3 separate regions of the Homo sapiens genome follow, and regions 2 and 3 are each linked to region 1. The links are contacts of gene promoters, found by promoter capture Hi-C in blood cells and fetal thymus (Javierre and others, 2016). All regions are on one chromosome and are shown on one strand. The core of a region is centred on a gene start or on the middle of the fragment in contact, and the rest is flanking DNA. Distances in the headings are between cores, read along the strand shown. Region 1 holds the start of DYNC1H1 (dynein cytoplasmic 1 heavy chain 1). Region 2 overlaps LINC02320 (long intergenic non-protein coding RNA 2320). Region 3 overlaps CINP (cyclin dependent kinase 2 interacting protein).

Evidence for each region. The method cuts DNA at HindIII sites, captures the fragments that hold promoters and counts their contacts. A CHiCAGO score of 5 or more calls a contact.
Region 2: a contact is called between a fragment that was not itself captured here and the fragment with the promoter of DYNC1H1 in region 1, in 2 of 17 cell types (total CD8 T cells and naive CD8 T cells). The highest score is 5.7, in total CD8 T cells.
Region 3: a fragment that was not itself captured here is called in contact with the fragment with the promoter of DYNC1H1 in region 1 in 1 of 17 cell types (activated CD4 T cells); the score reaches 5.3 in activated CD4 T cells.

Annotation. Positions count from the first base shown.
Region 1 is chr14:101,963,149-101,965,848 of GRCh38, forward strand. It overlaps DYNC1H1 (dynein cytoplasmic 1 heavy chain 1), which reads left to right and starts at 1,425. Exons shown (of 78, transcript NM_001376.5): 1 at 1,425-1,799. The coding sequence starts at 1,544. RefSeq lists enhancers at 978-1,117, 1,162-1,772, 1,773-2,382 and silencers at 1,258-1,417, 1,908-2,117. The HindIII fragment of the contact is 2,903 bases long and covers 45-2,700 here.
Region 2 is chr14:101,698,682-101,701,381 of GRCh38, forward strand. All of the region lies in intron 1 of LINC02320 (long intergenic non-protein coding RNA 2320), which reads right to left. Among named protein-coding and RNA genes, the nearest start is that of LINC00239, 30 kb to the right of the region's middle. The HindIII fragment of the contact is 307 bases long and covers 1,149-1,455 here.
Region 3 is chr14:102,355,013-102,357,712 of GRCh38, forward strand. CINP (cyclin dependent kinase 2 interacting protein) reads right to left here. Exons shown (of 5, transcript NM_032630.3): 3 at 756-885. Among named protein-coding and RNA genes, the nearest start is that of CINP, 6.5 kb to the right of the region's middle. The HindIII fragment of the contact is 877 bases long and covers 928-1,804 here.

The DNA.
Region 1 (2,700 bases), core at 175-2,674:
AGCAACCCCCTGGGACCCAGCAACCGGTAATTAGGCAAGGAATAAGCTTATTGTATGTTTCACAGTTTTTCAAAGATGATTTGGGAGAATCAAATCATACCATCATCATTCCACCAATCAGGACTCGGCACTCTGACAGTGCACTTTGATGTTTAAAAAAAACAAAAAAACCAAAAAAAAAAAAAACGCCATTGGCTTCCCTCTCTCCACCCAACTTAAGAAAGAAGTTATGAATGTGAACTTTCAAAGGCCAATTACTACCCCTTAGAAGAACCTACCATCTCTAAACTACAAAGATGGGCAGCCTGGATTCTATTATTTTTATTATTTTACAAAATTCTTAATTTTTAAATACACATAGATATAGGGTCTCGCTAGGTTGACCAGGCTGGTCTTGGAACTTCTGGCCTCAAGCAATCCTCCCATCTCAGCCTCTCAAAATGCTAGGATTACAGGTGTGAGCCACCGCACCCAGCTGGGCAGCCTGGATTCTGGCTCTTATGTAGTCATGGTGTAGGGGAGGAGGTCGTGGTGGGTCCGAACTAGGGGGAAACTTGGTGGGCAGGCAACCCAGCCCCTGCCTTGTACGGACCCAGATACTGAGGCCCACAGAATGACAGTGCCAGCTCTAGGGGGCTGGAGGAGAGCCATTGCTGGAGGTAGCTGTTCTCAGTAGGTCTCCCTCTTGGTCCTCACAGCGTCCTCGGGGACAATGATTTTTGTCATTAGGAACCAGATCCCATCACAGCTTGGCTTTACGTACAGTGAAGGTGTCATTCCTGGCTTAACCTTACACTGCCCCGAAGGCCCCCTCCCCAGCTGTCCGTTTCCAGCCTGGCAATGGGACTCTCTGAGCACGCCCCTCATCTCCTCCCCCTCTGAAAAGTATCCTCAATCTCCCGGTCTATATCTAATAACACATCTGTCGTGCCTATATTTTGGTACCTGATACGTAGTCATTCATTCATTCAATGAGAGAACATTTAATGAGAGGTTAAGGGGCTTAGAACAACGCCGGGCACAGGCTAAGCGCTCACTAAACGTTAGCTCTCGCCAATAACATCACTGATTCACTATAAAGTTTCTCTGGCTGTGTGCTATTCGCTGCGTCCACAGCAGTGAAGAAGACAGACGCAGCCCCTGACCAACCTCGCCAAGCCCGGGCGCCGAGCCAGGACGTTGAGCCAAGTCCCCATCTCCTAGGACTCGCAGTGCGGAGGCTGCGGGCCCCGACCAGCGCCGAGACTACAAGTCCCAGAAGGGCGCGCGGCGACATCGCCGGGCCCGCCCCCCGCGCACGCGCGGCGCCGTGACGCTAAGGCCGCGAGCGAGCGCGGGTGGCTGCGGCGGCTGCGGCCGGCGGGGCGGGGCGGGGCCACCTGGCAGTGGCTGCCTTTAGGGCGGAGCCGGCTCCCGCTCTCCTCAGTCTGCGGTGGGCTAGCGGACGGTCCGGCTTCCGGCGGCCGTTTCTGTCTCTTGCTGGCTGTCTCGCTGAGTCGCGGCCGCCTTCTCATCGCTCCTGGAAGGTCCCGAGCGCGACACCATGTCGGAGCCCGGGGGCGGCGGCGGCGAGGACGGCTCGGCCGGATTGGAAGTGTCGGCCGTGCAGAATGTGGCGGACGTGTCGGTGCTGCAGAAGCACCTGCGCAAGCTGGTGCCGCTGCTGCTGGAGGACGGCGGCGAGGCGCCGGCCGCGCTGGAGGCGGCGCTGGAGGAGAAGAGCGCCCTGGAGCAGATGCGCAAGTTCCTTTCGGACCCGCAGGTCCACACGGTGCTGGTGGAGCGCTCCACGCTCAAAGGTGCGGGGCCGCGGAGGGCAGGGTCGCCAGAGCCAGGCCTCGCGGAATGCAGGGCCTGCCAGGTCCTCCGGGGTCGCAGATGTCCCCGGGATGGGAGGAGCCCGGCAGCTGCAGATGACCCCTGGATGGGCAGAGCCCGGCGGCCGCAGACGTCCCGCCGGCCGGGTCCCCAGGGCCGCAGACGCCCCGCAGAGGCCGGCGCGGCGCCCGGGGCTCGCCCTCGCCACACCCACTGCCCGGCCCGGAGCCCCCAGGGCGCCCCGCTCCTGGTCGCGGGGAGGGGAAAGGGGTCCCCGTCTGCCGTCACCCAAAACAATGGGGTCGCTTTGTCTGCTCGGGCCTCTCAAGATGGCCGAGTTGGGTGGAGACAGCGTCTCCCTGGGCTGAGAGCGGGCGAGGCCGCATCCCTGCCTCCAGTGTCACATGAGCTTTTCGGTTTCGATTTGTGTCCAAGCCAAGTGGCCTTCGGGAGGGATGTGTCGGGGGCAGACCCGCGGAGCTGGGGGCAGCCGGGGTTCTGGTTCGGGAGGAGGTCGGGCGGGTGTCCCAGCCCTGCCTTGTGGGGACCCAGAGGCCGAGGCCCACAGAGCGACGGTGCCAGCCCCGGGCCTGCGAGCATCACTGTTGTAGGTGGATGCTCTCACAGCATCCTTGCTGAACGGGTGTATCCTGATTTTACACCTGAGGAAACTGAGGCTCAGGTTAAGTGATTTCACCCAAGGTCACCAGCTAATCTTAGTCCTGAGACTAGACTCAGTGTCTCAGCTCCCCATCCACTGCTTGTTTTCACTGATCATACCTCATATTTGTTTAATGCTTCGATGATGTTAATGATAACCCTGTAATATTTGAGTCTAATTTTACAGATTAAAAAAAAAAAAAAAGATTCAGGTTAGGCACC
Region 2 (2,700 bases), core at 52-2,551, 260 kb before region 1:
AATCGATGTGATAGATCATATCAGCATAATAAAGGAGAAAAACCATATGATCATTTCAACTGATGCTGAAAAAGCATTTGATAAAATTCCATATCCTTTCATGATTTGAAAAAAAAAACTCAAAAACTGGGTATAAAAGGCACATGCCTCAACACAATAAAAAGCATGGCTTTCATGTTGAGATATGTTCCTTCTATACCCAGTTTTTGCATCCTTCAACTTTCATATATAATATATATGTATATATATATATATATATATATATATATATATATATATATATATATATAAGTTGATCATACTAATATCATAGTGAATGCGGAAAAATGAAAGCCTTTTCTCTAAGATCTGGAACAAGACAAGGATGCCCACTTTCATCGCTGTTATTCAACATAGTACTGGAAGTCCTAGCTAGAGTAATCAGACAAAAGAAAGAAATAAAAGGCATTCAAAATGGAAAGGAAGAAGTGAAATTATTTTTATTTGCAGATAATATGATCTTATACTTGAAAAAAACGAAAGACTCCACCAAAAGGCTATTAGAACTGATAAACAAATTTAGTAAAGTTGCAGAATACAAAATCAACATACAAAAATCAGTAGCATTTTTATATGCTAACAGCAAACAATCTGAAAAAGAAATCAAGAAAGTAATCCCATTTACAATAGCTACAAATTAAACAAAATACCTAGGAATAAACTTAACCAAGGAAGTGAAAAATCTTTACAATAAAAACTTTTATGCAAGATATTGAAGAGGACACCAAAAAATGGAAAGATATTCCATGTTCATGGATTAGAAGAATCAATATTATTAAAATGTCCATGCTACCCAAAGCAATCTACAGATTCAGTGCAATCTCTATTAAAGTACTAATGAAATTCCTCACAGAAATAGAAAAAAAATCCTAAAATTTATATGGGACCACAAAAGGCCCAGAACAGTCAGAACCATCATGAGGAAAAAAAAAAAAAAAAAAAAACTGGAGGAATCCCATTACCTGATTTTAAATTATACTACAGAGCTATAGCAATGAAGTAACAAAAACAGGATGGTACTGACATAAAAACAGACACATAGACCAATGGAACAGAATAGAGAACCCAGAAATAAATCCATACAGCCACAGTGAACTCATTTTCAACAAAGCTTTCAAGAACATGTATTGAGAAAGGGATTGTCTCGTCAGTAAATTGTGCTGGGAAAACTGGATGTTCATATGCAGAAGAATGAAACCAGATCGCTCTCTCACCATACACAAAAATCAAATCAAAATGGATTAAAGACTTAAATCTAAAACCTGAAACTATGAAACTACTAAAAGAAAACATAGGAGAAACTCTCCAGGACATTGGTACGAACAAAGATTTCTTGAGTAATACTTCACAGGCACAGGCAACCGAAGCAAAAAATGGACAAATGGAATCACATTTTAAAAAATCACATCATTAAAAAGCTTCTGCATAGCAAAGGAAACTAGCAACAAAGTGAAGAGACAATCCACAGAATGAGAGAAAATATTTGCAAACTATCCATCTGACAAGGGATTAATAACCAGAATATATAAGGAGCTCAAACAATTCAATAGGAAAAAAAATCTAACAATTTGATTTAAAATGGGCAAAAGATTGAATAGACATTTCTCAAAAGAATACATCCAAATGGCAAACAGCTATGTGAACAGGTGCTCAACATCACTGATCATCAGGGAAACACAAATCAAAACTCCAATGAGACATCATCTCATACTAGTTAAAATAGCTTTTATCTAAAAGGCAGGAAATAATGAATGCTGGAGTGTTGAGAAAGGGAACCCTCGTACACTGTTGGTGGGAATGTAAATTAGTGCAGCCACTTGGAAAACAACATGGAGCTTCCTCAGAAAACTAAAAATAGACAGGGCGCAGTGGCTCCTGCCTGCAATCCCAGCACTTTGGGAGGCCAAGGCGGGTGGATCACCTGAGGTCAGGAGTTCGAGACCAGCGTGGCCAACACAACGAAACCCTGTCTCTACTAAAAATGCAAAAAATAGCCGGGCATGGCGGTGCGTGCCTGTGATCCCAGCTACTCAGGAGGCTGAGGCAGGAGAATCTCTTGAACCTGGGAGGTGGAGGTTGCAGTGAGCCAAGATCATACCACTGCACTCCACCCTGGGCAACAGAACGAGATTCCATCCCAAAAAAGAAAAAAATAATCAAAAAACAAAAAGAAAACTAAGAATAGAACTACCATAGGATCCAGCAATCCCACTGATAGGGATATACCTAAAAGAAAGTAAATCAGTAAATCAAAGAGATGTCTGCACTCTCATGCATTGCAGCACTATTCACAATATCCAAGATTTGGAACCGAGGTGTCCATCAACAAAAGAATAAATAAAATGTGGTACATATGCACAATGGAGTACTATTCAGCCATAGAAAAGAATGAGATTCTGTCATTTGCAACCACATGGATGGAAATGGAGGACATTATGTTAAGTAAAATAAGCCAGGCACAGAAAGACAAGCTTTACATGTTCTCACTCATTTGTGGGAGCTAAAAATTAAAACCATGGAATTCATGGAGATGAGAGTAGAATGATGGTTACTGGAGGCTGGGAAGGGTAGAAAGGGGTGGAGGGTAGGGACAGTTAAGGAGTACAAAGATATATTCAGATAGAATGAATAAGATATAGTATTTGATAGCACAACAGGGTG
Region 3 (2,700 bases), core at 116-2,615, 390 kb after region 1:
GAGCCAAGATCATGCTACTGTACTCCACCCTGGGTATCAGAATGAGACTCCATCTCAAAAAAAAAAAAAAAGAAAATCCAAAAAACAAAGATAAAGTTTTCATGGAATGCAGCCACATCCATTTACGCATATATTATCTATGGCTGTTTAGTCCTATGTGGCAGAGATGAGTAGCTGAGATAGAGACTGGCTGGCCCTGGAAGCCTAAAATATTTACTCTGTGGCTGGGCGTGGTAGCTCATGCCTGTAATCCCAGCCCTTTGGGAGGCCAGCAGGTGGATCACCTGAGGTCAGGAGTTTGAGATCAGCCTGACCAATATGGTGAAACCCTGTCTCAACTAAAAATGCAAAAATTAGCCAGGCATGGTGGCGGACGCCTGTAGTCCCAGCTACTCTGGAGGCTGAGACAGGAGAATCGCTTGAGCCCAGGAGGCGGAGTTTGCGGTGAGCCAAGATCACGCCATTGCACTCCAGCCTGGGCGACAAAGCAAGACTCCATATCATGGAAAAAAAAAAAAAATTTACTATGTGATGAGCCCTGAAAGTGGGTGACATTTCCCCGGATGACGCACAGGAGGAGTGAGTGTCTAAGACAGCATCTTGGGGAACATTAAGGTTTACGCAGCAGGCAGAGGAAGAGAACATCAGAGGAGACTGAGAAGGAGTAAGTGATGGCCAATGGTCAAGCAAACCCCAAATACGTCCATCGGATTCAGTGACAGTGACCACAAGTGGCCTGCGTCTTTATGTCTTACCAACCCATCCAAGGTGGCCTGCAGTTCCTCACACAGCTTCTCCAGTTCCTCGTTATATTCCAGACACACCTTTTCTTCATTTTCCTTCGAGGCTGGGCTGCTGCTGTCTAGTTCTATCTTGTCTTTATTCCTAAACAAAATAGAAAATAATGTGTACAAAATATACTCTTTAAGCTTGCCTTATTTCCTTATAATAAATTCTACAAACCTCTATATCCACATAGTTACGTGGGACATTTTGCATAAGCATTGTTCTTTCATATCATTATGATACAAATGCAGTTATTATTTATATGTGCAATGAATATGTCCATTGGTCACTCAATTTTGCACCAAAATAAGTCAGTTAAATTCAGCCATGTGACAGCCGGTTTTGGTGGCTCATGCCTGTAATCCCAACACTTTGAGGGATGGACGCGGGAGGACTGCTTGAGTCCAGGAGTCTGAGTCCAGCCTGGGCAACACAGTGAGACCTCATCTCCACAAAAATTAAAAGTAAAAATTAGCTGGGCATGGTGGGACACGTATGTGGTCCCAGCTACTTAGGAGGCTCAGGTGGGAGGATCACTTAAGCCCAGGAAGTCAAGGCTGCAGTGAGCCATTATAGCACCACTGCACTCAGCCTGCACAAAAGAGCAAGACTGTCTCAAAAAAAAAAAAAACACCATTCAGCGGTGTGGCATCCTTGGCATAGGGCATGGTGCTGGATGTACAAAGATGAATAAGACATGGATCATTTCCTCAAAGAGTTCACAATCCAGGAATATAGGCACGCCTCATTTTATTGTGCTTCACCTTATTCAGTTTCATAGATAATGCATTTTTTACAAATTGAAGGTTTGTGGCAACCCTCTGTATGTAGAGCAAGTCAATCAGCACCATTTTGCCAACAGCATGTGCTTACTTCATGTCTCTCTATCATATTTTGGTAATTCTTACAATATTTCAAACTTTTTCATTATTATGTCTATGATCTGTGATTGGTAATCTTTGATATTGCTAGTTTAATTGTTTTGAGGTGCCATGAACCATGTGCATATATAACGGCAAGCTTAATGAATGGATGTTGTGTGTTCTGACTGCTCCACTGACCGGCTGCTCCCCTTTCTCCCCATCTCCTTGGGCCTCCCTGTTCCCTGAAATAGGAGGATACTGAAATCAACCCAATTAATAGCCCTACATTGGCCTCTAAGTGTACAAGTGAAAGGAAGAGTTGCATATCTCTCATTTTAAATCAAAAGCTATACTTTGGCCAATTTAAGAAACAAAAAAATTAAAAGCTAGAAATGATTAAGCTTAGTGAGGAAGGCATGTCAAAAGCTCAGATAAGGGGCCAGGTGCGGTGGCTCACGCCTGTAATCCTAGCACTTTGGGAGGCCAAGGCGGGCAGATTGCCTGAGCTCAGGAATTCAAGACCAGCCTGGGCAACATGTGAAACTCCGTCTCTACTAAAATACAAAAGAAATTAGCTGGGCGTGGCGGTGTGCACCTGTAGTCCCAGCTACTTGGGAGGCAAAGGCAGGAGAATTGCTTGAACCCGGGAGGCAGAGGTTGCAGTGAGCCAAGATTGCACCATTGCACTCCAGCCTGAGCGACAGAGCGAGACTCCATCTCTACAAAAAAAAAAAAAAAAAAGCTAAGATAAGCTGAAAACCAGGCCTCTTGTGCCAAACAGTTGGCCAAGTTGTGAAGGCAAAGGAAAAGTTACTGAAGAAAATTAAAGGTGCTACTCCAGTGAACATGTGAATGATGAGTGAAACAGCCTTAGTGTGGATATGGAGAAAGTTTGAGTGGTCTGGATAGAAGATCAAACCAGACACAGCATTCCCTTAAGTCAAAGCCTAATCCACAGCAGGACCCTAACTCTCTTCAATTCTGTGAAGGCTGAGAGATATGAGGAAGTTACAGAAGAAAAGTTTGAGATAGCAGGATTTGGTTCATGAGG